Linked DNA regions of Homo sapiens: all the other regions are linked to region 1. Evidence: promoter capture Hi-C in 16 types of primary human blood cells and fetal thymus (Javierre and others, 2016). All regions are on one chromosome and are shown on one strand. The core of a region is centred on a gene start or on the middle of the fragment in contact, and the rest is flanking DNA. Distances in the headings are between cores, read along the strand shown.

Region 1 (2,700 bases), core at 53-2,552:
TGTCATCCCCAGCTGGAGGACTCTAAGTTTCATGAGGGTAGGCATCAAGCCTATTTGTTTCCCTCTATGTCCCCAGCACCTTGCTTGGGGACTGACACACAATGGATGCTTATTAAATATTTGTTGAATGAATGTTTGTTAAGCCTACAAACTTTCTTTCTCAAATAGTATTTATGTGATATTAGTAATAATTCCCTACATAGTTCAATGGCTTACCAAACATCTTTATGAGTTAGTGTCCCAACTTTGGGGTAAAGGCAGTGCAGGTAATATTATTCTCCCATTTTTTTTAGAAAATAAAACACCATCTGTGAGATTATCTGACTTGATTAAGGTGGTGGATACAACATTAGAATTCAAATGCATATCTGTATTAAAATTCTGACTGTAAATTTTGTGTCACTTACCAGCTGTTAACCAGATGCTCTGGCTGTGCAGAGTGAAATATGGGTAGCTAGTGGAAGAGAGCAGTGGAAGGAACAGGGAGAAGCAAAAGCCAGGCCTTGGAGGATTTCCTTTCCTCCAGTGCCTGCTTGATTCCCAAATAGGATTGCTTTGCCTATCCTGGGAGCTGAGACCCTCCATAAGTCTCTCAATGACTTGAGGCTGGGCCAGAGTGAGTGAGACCAGTGAATCCTCACCTTCTGGGGAGAAGAGAAATGAGAGCTGGTACACAGGGGAACTCACCCACACTAGTGTGTATGTGCACACTCACATCCGGACAAAATCCACACCAAGGCATGCATAGAAATCAACACATAGAATGAGCCACTGCACAGTCATACACACATTTAAACATACACCCCACATACAGATGTCAAACCAACACACAGAATGAGCCCCTGCACAGTCACACACACATTTAAACATGCACCCCACATACAGATGTCTAGCCACTATCGTGTACATCCAACCACTGATGTGCCCTCCAGTTTTACACCAAGCTGCCATCTTGGACATGTGCATGCATGTGTACATACACCGAACAGCCCTGATGAAAATTTGGATAAACGCACGTACGCACACACACAACTAAACACATCCCTATGATTTATCATCACACTCAAGTACATGCACACCTTTGCAAACGCGTGGGAAACAATCACTCTGATCACTCTGGCGCACAAAACCTCCAAATACGCTAACAAGCTCTACAAACGCAGAGATGCATCGACACACCCGAGTTGTCATCAGCACTGCAAGTTTTTTCCAAACAGCTGCTAAAAAGAGAATGCTGCGCTGCGGGCCAGCCCACGTGACCGGGAGGAAGGCTCTCCCGCCCATGACGGGATGGGAAAACTATGCCTGGGGCCGACGCTCTGCCCGGCTGCTGCCGCTGAGGAAAGCCGGGACGCGGAGCCCCGCCGAGAGCTTCTTTGCTCCGGACGCCCCTGGACGTGGCGGGCAGCCGCGAGGGTGAGTGTCCCGCACCGCGGTCGGGCGGGGGCGGCAAGTGCGCGCGGGGAGGAGGAGGAGGAGGACTCGCACTGCTGCGGGCGGGGCGGGATGCGGAAGGTGGGAGAGCTGCCAGCGCGCCTTTATTGCGGGCTGGGCAGCTCCTGCATTCCTGCCTCTCGACTTCTACCTTCGTATTATAATACAAATTAACATGTTTTGAGTCCTTACTGTGTGCCAGGCTCTGTGCCCAGTGGTTTACCCGTTACAATAGTAACACCCGTAGCTCTGCCATTTATTGAGCGCCTACTTTGTGCCAAGTCCTGCTAGCACTTTACTTGTGCTCTTTCATTTTCATGACAACAGATTATCCCCGTCTACAAAAGAGGAACTGGGCTCAGAGACATTAATGACTTGGACAGGGTTGCACAGCTAGTAATTGATAAAAAAGGGACTTGAAGTCTGGTAAATCTGAGTCCAATACCCGAGCTAACAATCACAGTTAACATTTACTGAATGCATTATTTCACTTAACCTTCACATTTATTTAAATATATGATACAGACTGGCAAACTGAGCTCAAAAGGTATTGAACGGCAGGCAGAGATTTGTACTCAATGCCTCATGACTCTCTTCACTCTCCTTCCCCACCTAAACTACTTGTCTTAATATGCTTTGTCCTTATTTCTCCATCCCCACTGCTGCTGCCCCATTCTAGGACCTCGCTTTTCAGCTAAATAATTGCAGTGGGCCCTAATAGTCTCCCAGCCCAGGTCTCTCCTCTGACACCATGAGTCCCTTGCATTACCTCATTGTGATCCTCCTCTGCTCCTTGACCACAAAATTGCCCTGCTTGGAAGCCTGCAGAGGTCCCTTCCTTAGACTGGCCATCTCTCAGAGACCCTGTGTTTCCACCATGCTGAAGTAGCAGTAATAGAAAGACAATGTCTTACATAGGTCAATCCAAGGCTGGTGCTCAGTTAGCACTGTTAAAAATCTGTCCTCTCACATCCTTATTTTTGCCCTCCCTCTGCACCATTCTCTAATTTATTCTGTCATCTGGAGTAATTATATCAATTACTCCTGCTTTCAACTGCCCGATCCTCAAACTCTCCACACATTTCCAAGCATCACTACAGCCCTTCATTGTAACACATCAGATTCACTGCAGAATTTGTTTCCTCCCAAATGTCTGACTTCTCCCCATCTCCTAGCAGGGATACCACACTTACCAGTCTTCCAATCCTTAAACCTTAGGTTTACCTTTTGTTTTAAATGTTATAAAAGTAACGACGCTCATCACAA
Region 2 (2,700 bases), core at 39-2,538, 350 kb after region 1:
GGGAGCTGCCCTGCCCCTGCTGCCATGTAGGGACACAAATGGTGCCATCTGTAAGGAAGAGGCCCTCACCAGACACTAAAATTGCTGGCACCTTGATCTTGGACTTCTCAGCCTCCAGAATTATGAGCAATAAATTTCTATTATTTATAAGTTATCCAGTCTAAGGTATTTTGTTATAGCAGCTCCAACACACTAAGATAGAATTTTTGTATCATAATGTTATTATTGCAATTCTCTTCTGCTGCTACATTTGTCCTTCACCTTAGCCAAGCCTCTCAGAACCAGTTATTTGCTTCACATACCTAGTACATCTCAAATGTTAGCTAAAATTCCATTCCTGTGGGTAGTTATATCTACATTTAAGCTTTCACAAATAGTTAAGATTTACTGCTGAAATAAACACACGAATACACTATACTCTCTGAGAGCTTTTCCTGTTTTTACCAAATCTTAACTGCTTTCCTCCTCAATTATTCTTGATTTATGAGTCCTGCTGAGAAGTGACACTACACTTGAGCGTGAATTATCTTCCCAGCCACAGGACAAGTGAAGTTAGCTTGATTAACAGACTTTGGCTACTATTATTTGGTTGTGTCCAACAAGAAACCTTTAATACTACATAGACCCTGTACGGAATAGCACTTCTTTCCCAAATCATCAGGGGTCAGCTTCATGTGCTTTTGTGGTAGGGCACACAGTTTGGTTGTAAAGTAATCAATTTTTATTTATTTATATTCTTAAAATGGAATAATGTAATACAGGCTTACTGAAAAAAAAAGCAAATATTACAAAATTGCATTACATATAAATTAAAATTCCCTAATAATCATACCTCTCAAAGTTACTTACTGCTTATACTTTGGTGTATATCCTTCAAATTTGTATGTATAAACATATTTTCACATAGCCTTAAAAGAAATCATCACTGTTGTATAACCTGATTAATTAATTTGACATTATATTACAGGCAGCTTCCCAGGTCAATACCTACGATTCATCTTTTTAAAAAAATTTTTTAAATTATTTATTTATTTATTGAGACAGAGTCTCATTCTGTCACCCAGGCTGGAGTGCAGTGGCGTGATCTCGGCTCTCTGCAACCTCCGCCTCCTAGGTTCAAGCAATTCTCGTGCCTCAGCCTTCTAAGTAGCTGGGACTATAGGTGTGCACCGCCATACCTGGCTAATTTTTGTATTTTTAGTAGAGATGGGGTTTCACCATGTTGGCCAGGCTGGTCTTGAATTCCTGGTCTTGAGTGGTCTGCCCACCTTGGCCTCCCAAAGTGCTGGGATTATAGGCATGAGCCACTGCACCCGGCCAAGATTTACCTTTAACAACTGCATTGTATACTACATAAATATAACAACAAAATTTAAGTAATACTCTGGGAAGAACACATTTTTCTCTCCTACTATACCCTCCCAATAGGTCTGACACCAGATGAGAGTGTTTTCCACACTAAACAATTCTCCAATGGACACCAACGGAGTGTCCTATAATTCAATTCAGTTCTGTCACTATCTCCAGGTAGACAGTGTCTGATCCCACAGGTTAAGAGTTTAGTCTCATAAGCCTGGCCCCACTTCAGACACTAATCACAAGTCCCAGGTTGTGACCTATGATTCCGACTGAATGGTTAGCACAGGGTTCTTACCACCCTCTCTGTGGGTTCAATAATTTGCTAGAATGGCTCACAGAACTCTGGGAAACACTTTACTTACACTTAGTAGTTTATTACAAAGGACATTATGAATGATATAGAACAGCCAGGTGAAGAGACACACAGGGAAAGGTAGAGGGAGAAGGGGTGCAGAGCTGCCACGCCCTCTCTGGGTGCTACCCTCTTAACACTTCCATGTGCTCATCAACCTGGAAGCTCATCAGATTTCTAGTTCAAGAGTTTTTATAGGCCAGGCGCAGCAGCTCACACCTGTAATCCTAGCACTGTGGGAAGCTGAGATGGGAATATTGCTTGAGTCCAGGAGTTCGAGACCAGCCTGGGCAACATAGTAAGACTTCATTTCAAACACAAAAAAATTTAGCAAGGTGTGGTGGAAGGCGCCTGTGGTCCCAGCCACTTGGGACATTGATGTAGGAGGATTGCTTGAGCCCAGGAGGTTGAAGCCTCCAGTGAACTATGATCGCACCTCTGCACTCCAGCCTGGGCAACAGAGCGAGACTTGGCTCAAAACACAAGAAGAAAAAAGCTTTAATGGAGCTTAATCTCCAGCACTTGCCCTCCTCCTTTCCTGGATTTTGGTAGGTGGTGCCAAAAGTTCCAACCCTCTAAAACTCTAATCACTTAGTCTTTTTGGTGACTGGCCCCATCCTTCCTTAGGCTATAGATAGGCCAGATCCTAAAAGTTATCTCATTAGGATGAACTCAGGTGTTATCAAAAGGGGTACATTAAGAATAACAAAAAAATACACTACACTATCAGAAAATTCCAAGGGTTCTAGTGGCTCTGTAACAGGAACCAGGGACAAAGACCAAATAAATTTACTATACTACAAATACCCTGTTTAACATTGTCTAGCTTTCCAAAATTATGAATGATGCTGCAACACATCTATGTATATACATTTGTGTATATTTCTAATAATTTCCTTGAAATAAATGGCTACAAGAGAATCAGCGTTAATGCTGTCATGTCCAATATGGTACTTACTAGCCACATGTGACGATTTTAAAATTATTTA
Region 3 (2,700 bases), core at 197-2,696, 340 kb after region 1:
CACAAGAGAAGCCTGGAACCTAAACAATTGGTCCTTTTAACATGAGGAACTGATATGATCTGTGTTCCTACCCAAATATCCCCACGGGTCAAGGGACGGACCCTGGATCATGGGGACGGTTCCCCCATGTTGTTCTCATGATAGTGAGTTCACTTTCATGAGAACTGATGGTTTTCAAGTGCCACACTTTAAAACCATCAGCTTTCTCTTCACTTTCCGCCATGATTGTTAAGTTTCCTGAGGCCTCTATAGCCATGTGGAACTGTGAGTCAATTCAACCTCTTTTGTTTATAAATCACCCACTCTCAGGCAATTCTTAATAGCAGTGTGAAAATGGATTAATACAGGAACCAAAATAAAAACATTCTTTCTCTGGAAAAGATTTGTCAATATGCTATTGATGAGACCGGGTATTTCCCAAATGTCTTATTATTACACTATGGATTAAACAGAGCACTTGATGAATCTCAGTGAGGAAACTAAAAGGTAAGTATAGAGTGAATCTAATTTTTATGGTACATACTATGTGCCAGACACACAGCAGGTACAAATAACAATTCATTTTAAGATATAACGTATCTGAGGGAAGGGCTATTCTAAAGGAATTCAGAAAAAAATAAAATATAAGAATATGGCCATATTTACCTAGTACTACCCATAAGAAAGATGCTTAGATTGTAATGATCTCTACTGTATTGATTAGGGTTACTGGATGCAAGCAAAAGACTATCTTAAGCAAAAAACTTTAGGGGGCAGGTTTACTGGCAAGGTATCAGTGCTCACAGAATCAGTGAGAGGCTTAACGAATAGGCTTAGAAAGCAGGTAGAACTTGGCTGGGCGTGGTGGCTCACGCCTGTAATCCCAGCACTTTGGGAGGCTGAGGCAGGCAGATCATGAGGTCAAGAGATTGAGACCATCCTGGCCGACATAGTGAAACCCTGTCTCTACTAAAAATACCCCCCCAAAAAAAAAAATTAGCTGGGTGTGGTGGCAGGCGCCTGTAGTCCCAGCTACTCAGGAGTCTGAGGCAGGAGAATCACTCGAACCTGGGAGGCGGAGGCTGGAGTGAGTCAAGGCCGCGCCACTGCACTCTAGCCTGGCGACAGAGTGAGACTCCGTCTCAAAAAAAAAAAAAAAAAAAAAAAAAAAAAAGAAAGCAGGTAGAACTCAAGGAGGCTCTGTTAAGAAGCAGAATGCATGTCTTTTAGTGAAAGACTTGCCAGGACAGGGCTGCAATGACAGCAAATCAACTCTAACCATTCCATTGTCTTTGCTTCACTCAATCTAGATTTAAGATCTTGGTCAGAAGCATCTAATATACCAAGCATCGATCACAAGCCTTGGTTATCAGAGGATGAAGTGAGAGACATGGGGTACTGCCACTCAACAAGATCACAACACAAGAGAATTCCTCCAAATAGGAAGGGGTGTTGGATGTTGGAGAGCCAAGACAACATAACAAATTCAGTTAACAGTTATTTAAGAAACAAATTCTTTAGAGAGGGGTTAAATCATCAAGTTACTAGATCTTAATGCCCACTCTTTAAGAGTTTTCAATTTCTTTAGCATTGACTGTAAATCTTAAGCTATTTTCTGATCTATAATCTTCTCTTCAGAGCCAACTCATTAGGAATATTCTATGAACACAGATGAATCAATCAGATTGCCGGATTAGGCTCTTGTGAAGTAAGCGTGTGTATGTGTGTTCATGTTTTAGGAGACCAATCATTCTTTGGGAAATTTATAACATCAAGTTCCCAATGGGCAAAACCACGTCTCAAGTATACAGAAAGGAATCAGTGCTACGGGCCGGCCTGAGCAGCCAGCTCGAGAAATACTTACCATGTCTTTATTTTTATTTTCAGAGACAAGGTCTCCTTCTGTTGCCCAGGCTGGAGTGCAGTGGCACCATAAGAGTTTACTGTAAACTTGAACTCCTGGACTCAAGCAATCCTTTTGAGTAGCGGGGACTATAAGCAAGCACCACTGCCCCTAGGTAATTTCTTTCTGTTTTTAGTAGAGATGGGGTCTTACTGTGTTGGCCAGGTTGGTCTTGAACTCCTGGGCTCAAGCAGTCTTCTCATCTCAGCCTCCTAGTGTGTTGGGATTATAGGTGTGAGCCAGTGTGCCCAGCCCTCATCTTGCCTTTATAACTTGAAGGACTGAAAGTTGAGGTAGCAAAGCGAAAGGCTCCAGAATGTAATTCTGAGGTTATTTTTTATTTATTTATTTATTTTTTTTGAGACAGAGTCTCACTCCATCACCCAGTCTGGAGTGCAGTGGCATGATCTTGGCTCACTGCAACCTCTGCCTCCCAGATTCAAGTGATTCTTGTGCCTCAGCCTCCCGAGTAGCTGTGTTTACAGGCATGCACCACCACACCTGGCTAATTTTTTGTATTTTTAGTAGAGATGGGGGTTTTGCCATGTTACCCAGGCTGGTCTTGAACTCCAGGCCTCAAGTGATTCACCTGCCTTGGCCTCCCAAAGTTCTGGGATTACAGGTGTGAGCTAAGGTCAATTATTCTAAGTGAGGCATCCTATTGTTTCAACGGATAAATCACAACCCAGTGGCCCACTGAGTAGTAAACATTGAAAAAGAACTGCTGCTTCCCTCTCCACAGATTGTGCAAATTAAGAGTAATGCAATTATCAGTATCATGCTGAACATCTCCTTGGAAACAGCTAAAAATAGCACTT
Region 4 (2,700 bases), core at 57-2,556, 370 kb after region 1:
ATTCACTCAGCACTACAGAAGCCGATCCTGTGTAATTGAAAATGCGTAAGCTCTGCATTCGTGTGTGCTTACATGAAGATTACTTTGGTTCCCCTAACAGCTCTGAGCTAGACAAAGCAAGTATTACTTCCATTTTACCGAAGAGAAACTGAGGAAATTGAGAGCTGAAAGGACTTGATCAGGAAGACCACGATAGCTTATGACAGAGTTATATTTATAGCCGGAGGGACAAAGAGATCTCTGTCCAGTTCTTCATCTCATTTGTTCTATGAACTCCTTTGGTGGGCTGCTGAAGCCTCTGGATCGCTTCTCAGAGAAATTTTTTTAAATGCATAAAACAAAATATACTGGAATATGAAGGAAATAAATTATATTGAAATACAGTTCCTATAATACTAACAATAAAATTAGCAAGATATATATATCTACGTATCTACATATTCTGTTTGTCTACACACACACTCCTTTTTATTAACACATTAAGTATAGCAGGTGTAATAACTACCACAATTTTGAAGTAGTGATGAGTATATTCAATATTTCAAGTCATCTGAAACAACTGTAATATGCTATGAAATATCTGATATTCTTTTGGTGATAAAGTCAAAAGCTCTGCTAATATTACTATGTTCTATTGGCTAAGTTCATAAAAGAAGGAAAAACTAAATTTCAGTTAAAAGTTAGAGGCCAGGCGCGGTGGCTTACGCCTGTAATCCTAGCACTTTGGGAGGCCGAGGCAGGAGGATCACCTGAGGTCGGGAGTTTGAGGCCAGCCCGGCCAACATGGTGAAACCCCATCTCTACTGAAAATACAAAAATTAGCCAGGCGGGGTGGTGGTCATCTGTAATCCTGGCTACTTGGGAGGCTGAGGCAGGAGAATTGCTTAAAACTGGGAGGCAGAGGTTGCAGTGAGCCGAGATTGGGCCACTGCACTCCAGCCTGGGTGACAGTGCAAGACTCTGTCTCAAAAAAAAAAAAAAGTTAGTGAAGATAAGAATGTAATTTTCCCCCTATCTAAAGTCATGACCCTTCCCTCTAAATTTTATCCATTGTCCCTTTAGGGGTTTGTAGATCTCAAGTTAGGAACTCCTTATCTAGTCCAATCCCTCATAAAGCAGATGAACAAATGAGGTCCAGAGAGGGAATGTGATTTATCTAAGACATTTTAGCCACATAGCAGGGAATAAACTAGAACCCAGAGGTTGGTAATTCCTTCTCTATAAGGCTGTTATGAGGAATAAATGTAACAATATATGTAAAATCTTAGCACAGTACCAGTGACACAATAGGCATTTGTAGAAAACTGGCCACACAACACAGTAGAAGCAGAGAGATGAGACTTTCTGGAAATCTCTGTAACAGAGGGCAAACTCAGCTGTATGTGTCTTTTTGTTTGTTTTTATTTGATTTCAAAAATTCTTTTTGCCACACTGGAGGAGAATGTTTGTTTGTTTGTTTTTAGACAGTCTCACTTTGTCACCCAGGCTGGATTGCAGTGGCACGATCTTGGCTCACTGCAACCTCCGCCTCCTGGGTTCAAGCGATTCTCCTGCCTCAGCCTCCCAAGTAGCTGGGATTACAGGCACCCGTTACCATGCCCGGCTGATTTTTGTATTTTTCGTAGAGACAGGGTTTCACCATGTTGCCAGGCTGGTCTCGAACTTCTGACCTCAGGTGATCCACTGGCCTCAGCCTCCCAAAGTGCTGGGATTACAGGCATGAGCCACCACACCTGGCCAGTTTGTTTGTTTTTATAGACAGAGTCCCACTCTGTTGCCCAGCCTGCAGTGCAGTGGTGCAATCATAGTTCACAGCAACCTGCAGCTCCTGGGCTCAAGTGATCCTCTTGCCTCAGTCTCCTGAGTAGCTGGGACTATAGGGGCGTACCACCATGCCTGGATAATTTTTTGTTTTTAAATTTCTTTGTAGAGGGGATCTTGCTATGCAGTCCAGGCTGGTCTCAAACTCCTGGGCTCAAGCAACCCTCCCACCTTGGTCTCCTGAGTGGCTGGGATTGCAGGTATAAGCCACCACACCTGGCCCTGTATGTGCCTTTTGTCTTTGCCATATTTCTTCCTGCCTGGAAGAGGGACATTATGGCCACATTTTAAGGACAGAGTAGGGAAACACTAGAAGGGCCATGGGCCTCTCCTGACAGTGTGGATTTGCCATACTATCCCCACTGTCCCCAGACTGCCTACTTCCAGACTTCTCATATGAGAGAAAAAATAAACAAACAGCCCTTTTTGATTTGTTCAAGCCACTGTTATGTGTGTTCTGTTATGTGCAGCCAAACTCACTCCCCTAACTGATACACAGCTCTTCCTGGCTGGGTGACTTACTCTCTCTGAGCCCTAAGTCCTTCATTTAAGGTTTTTTGGTGAGGATTAGAAGATACAGAGGACTTAGGCAGTGCCTGGCACAGCAAAAAGCAGCTATTATTATTATTACTGTTTCAGTGGATTGCAGTTCAGTGCTCTTTCTACCAAATTGACTCACAGCTTAAAAATCACTCACACAGACTCAAAATCCCATTAAGCCCTCCCCAACCCCAGCCCGCTTTCTCCAGCTGCAGCTTTGGTCCACTGCCTCAAAGTCAGCCTGAGGAAATACTTACCATGTCCCAGGGAGAGGAACAGTTTATGAAAATGCTGACACAGACGAAACACCTAATAATTAGTGGCTAACAACCACAGACA
Region 5 (2,700 bases), core at 31-2,530, 320 kb after region 1:
TGGGGTTTTGTTGTGTTGGCCAGGCTGGTCTCGAGCTCCTGGCCTCAAGTGATCTCTCCTCCTTGGCCTCCTAAAGTGCTGGGATTACAGGCAAGAGCCACTGCGCCTGGCCTCCCATATATCTTGATAAGCTCCTCAAAAGCACAGAAATGGAATTTAATTGTGTCTGAAAGGATTATTTAGGACTCACTGGGTAGCAACACAAAGAATAGAAGGAAAAATATTTTTAAAATTTTAGGTTTTACCATACAAGCTTCTCTTGCTTGATGTATTGATGGATCTTTTTCTAATATAGATTTATAGTCTTCCAGGGCTTCATCTAGCTTGTCCGTCTTCTCATACAACTCTGCTCTCCTCAATATTGCCCTGATATAGCTGGGGTTTAATTGAATTGCTGTAAAAAGAGAAGAAATAATTTTTATCACAAAGAAAAATGGCCTACATATCTTTGGCTATATCAGATTCCTTCATCAATCATCCTCCAAGGATACGAAAGGAAGAGTCATTTGCCAAGTGTATACCTGATGCTGGAAAACTTTTTCTATAAAGAGCAAGATAGTAAAGATTGTAGGCTTTGTGGGTCAGACAGACCATCTGTGTCGCAGCTCCTCAATGATACTATTGTAGCACGAGAGCAGGCACAGATAATATGTAAACAAAAAAGGATAGGTGTGTTCCAATAAACTATTTATGGACACTAAAATTTAAGTTCACATAATTTTCACATTATCATGAAATATTTTGCTTTCCAATGATTTAAAACTGTAAAAACCATTCTTAGCTTTTAGGCTATCAAAAACAGGTGGCAGGCTGGATTTGGCTTGTGGCTGTAGTTTGCCATATCCTGGTCTATACTCCAAGTCCTGGTTTTTGCCTACTTGTCATTTACCCAGTCCAGGACAGGCCAGAACAGAGTTCAAGTGCGCAGTGAAAGAGTGAGAGAGAATTTTTTTTTTTTAGACGGAGTCTCGCTCTGTCACCCAGGCTGGAGTGCAGTGGTGTGATCTTGGCTCACTACAACCACCTCCTCCCAGGTTCAAGCGATTCTCCTACCTCAGCCTCCCACGTAGCTGGGATTACAGGCATGCGCCACCATGCCCGGCTAATTTTTGTATTTTTAGTAGAGATGGGGTTTCATTATGTTGGCCAGGCTAGGTGAGAGAGAATTTGAAGATACAAATTAAAGAGTTAAGGGAAACCAATCTGGTGGCAGACTATCATTCTCTTTTTTCTAGGTCTTGAGTACTAAGATTATATTTCTAGTTAAATCCTCACTGTTCCTTCAACCCTCAAACTACTGCTCCAGCACTATGAGGTGGTTGATGCATAATATCTTTTCCTTTATCCAGCATCAGCTGCCCTTCTAATAATCCTTTGCTATGTTTTGGTTCAACATACTGCATTTCTTCTAATTTCTTCCAAGTTGTTTCTTTTTCTATTAGAAAGCAGTGCTGGCCGGGTGTGGTGGCTCAGGCCCATAATCCCAGCACTTTGGGAGGCCGAGGCAGGCAGGTCAATTGGGGTCAGGACTTTGAGACCGTCAGCCTAGCCAACATGGCGAAACCCCATCACTACTAAAAATACAAAAATTAGCTGGGCGTGGCAGTGTGGGTCTATAATCCCAGCTATTTGGGTGGTTTAGGCATAAGAATCACTTGAACCCAGGAGGCGGAGGTTGCGTGCAGTGAGTGGCGATTGCATCACTGTACTCCAGCCCGGGCAACAGAGAGATAATACTCTGTCCCAAAAAAAAAAAAAAAAAAAAAAAAAAAAAAAAAAAAGCAATGTCTTGGCTCTAGAACTTTTTTCTTTTCTCATAATCTATCCTTAATTTTTAAATTCATGCTTTCTGTGAACATTTATTTAGTACTTAATATATACGTCCAATGTAGTATGTCTCTGGGCTATAGTGGGAAACAAGACAGACACAGTCCTTGTTCTCATGAAGCCTTATGCTATTCTAGTAGGCAAGAACAGACAGGTATATAATTTCAATAGCCATAGTACTATAATGAAAAATAAAACAAGGTCATGGAAATACAAGTGAAGCGAGAAATGAGGTAACTTCAGAAAGTGGTCTCAGAATATGAAGAGGGACTATGTGAGAGAGGCCAGCCATGTGAAAGGCTAAGGAGGAGCGTGCCAGGAAGAGGGACCAACAAGAATAACTCTGGCATGTGAGTTATCAGGCTGGGGATCAGAGGCTGAAATGTAGGGCCATGGAGGACCTTCCTGGCCAGGGAAAGGAGTTTGGACTTTTTCCTCAGTGTGATGAGAAGCCACTGGAAAGTTTTCAAGCAAGCTTCAGACATACTCTGATTTACATTTTTGAAGGACTGCTTTGGCTGTAGTGTTGGCGGGTGGGGCAAGACTGAAAGCTGTGAGATCAGCTGGAAAGCTAATGCAGTGGTCCAGATGAGAGAAGATGTTGGCTTGGTCTAAGCTGGAAGTAGTAGAGATGGAAAACAGCAGCCGGATTACATTAAATATGTCTTTAAATTTGAGCCCATGGAACTTGCTAATTAATCAATTAGCCATGTGACACGAAAGAACAATCAGGGATGACTCCAAAGGTTTAACTTAAGCAAGGGGACAGATGGTAATGTCATTTATTAGAATGGAAAAAACTAACTGCAAGTTTTGTGTGTGTGTGGGGGCTGGGCACGTTAAATCTGAGGTGCCTACCAGACATCCAAGAAG

What was found. Contacts are between HindIII fragments. The CHiCAGO score rates a contact against its expected background, and 5 or more counts as called.
Region 2: a contact is called between a fragment that was not itself captured here and the fragment with the promoter of C1QTNF2 in region 1, in 3 of 17 cell types (megakaryocytes, endothelial precursors and M0 macrophages). The highest score is 6.8, in megakaryocytes.
Region 3: a contact is called between a fragment that was not itself captured here and the fragment with the promoter of C1QTNF2 in region 1, in 12 of 17 cell types (M2 macrophages, neutrophils, endothelial precursors and 9 more). The highest score is 11.3, in M2 macrophages.
Region 4: a contact is called between a fragment that was not itself captured here and the fragment with the promoter of C1QTNF2 in region 1, in 1 of 17 cell types (neutrophils). The highest score is 5.5, in neutrophils.
Region 5: a contact is called between a fragment that was not itself captured here and the fragment with the promoter of C1QTNF2 in region 1, in 8 of 17 cell types (erythroblasts, megakaryocytes, M2 macrophages and 5 more). The highest score is 9.1, in erythroblasts.

The regions. Positions count from the first base shown.
Region 1 is chr5:160,369,228-160,371,927 of GRCh38, reverse strand. C1QTNF2 (C1q and TNF related 2) reads left to right here and starts at 1,302. Exons shown (of 3, transcript NM_031908.6): 1 at 1,302-1,416. The HindIII fragment of the contact is 8,188 bases long and covers 1-2,700 here.
Region 2 is chr5:160,014,715-160,017,414 of GRCh38, reverse strand. All of the region lies in intron 2 of TTC1 (tetratricopeptide repeat domain 1), which reads right to left. LOC124901124 (a long non-coding RNA gene) reads right to left here. Exons shown (of 2, transcript XR_007059025.1): 1 at 1-2,700. Among named protein-coding and RNA genes, the nearest start is that of TTC1, 6.9 kb to the right of the region's middle. The HindIII fragment of the contact is 1,843 bases long and covers 367-2,209 here.
Region 3 is chr5:160,031,156-160,033,855 of GRCh38, reverse strand. The region is part of intron 2 of TTC1 (tetratricopeptide repeat domain 1); the gene reads right to left. Among named protein-coding and RNA genes, the nearest start is that of TTC1, 23 kb to the right of the region's middle. The HindIII fragment of the contact is 3,077 bases long and covers 1-2,700 here.
Region 4 is chr5:159,996,002-159,998,701 of GRCh38, reverse strand. No RefSeq gene overlaps it. Among named protein-coding and RNA genes, the nearest start is that of TTC1, 12 kb to the left of the region's middle. The HindIII fragment of the contact is 3,133 bases long and covers 1-2,700 here.
Region 5 is chr5:160,047,208-160,049,907 of GRCh38, reverse strand. It overlaps TTC1 (tetratricopeptide repeat domain 1), which reads right to left. Exons shown (of 8, transcript NM_003314.3): 6 at 246-394. It also overlaps a transcript of PWWP2A not described here. Among named protein-coding and RNA genes, the nearest start is that of TTC1, 39 kb to the right of the region's middle. The HindIII fragment of the contact is 2,049 bases long and covers 256-2,304 here.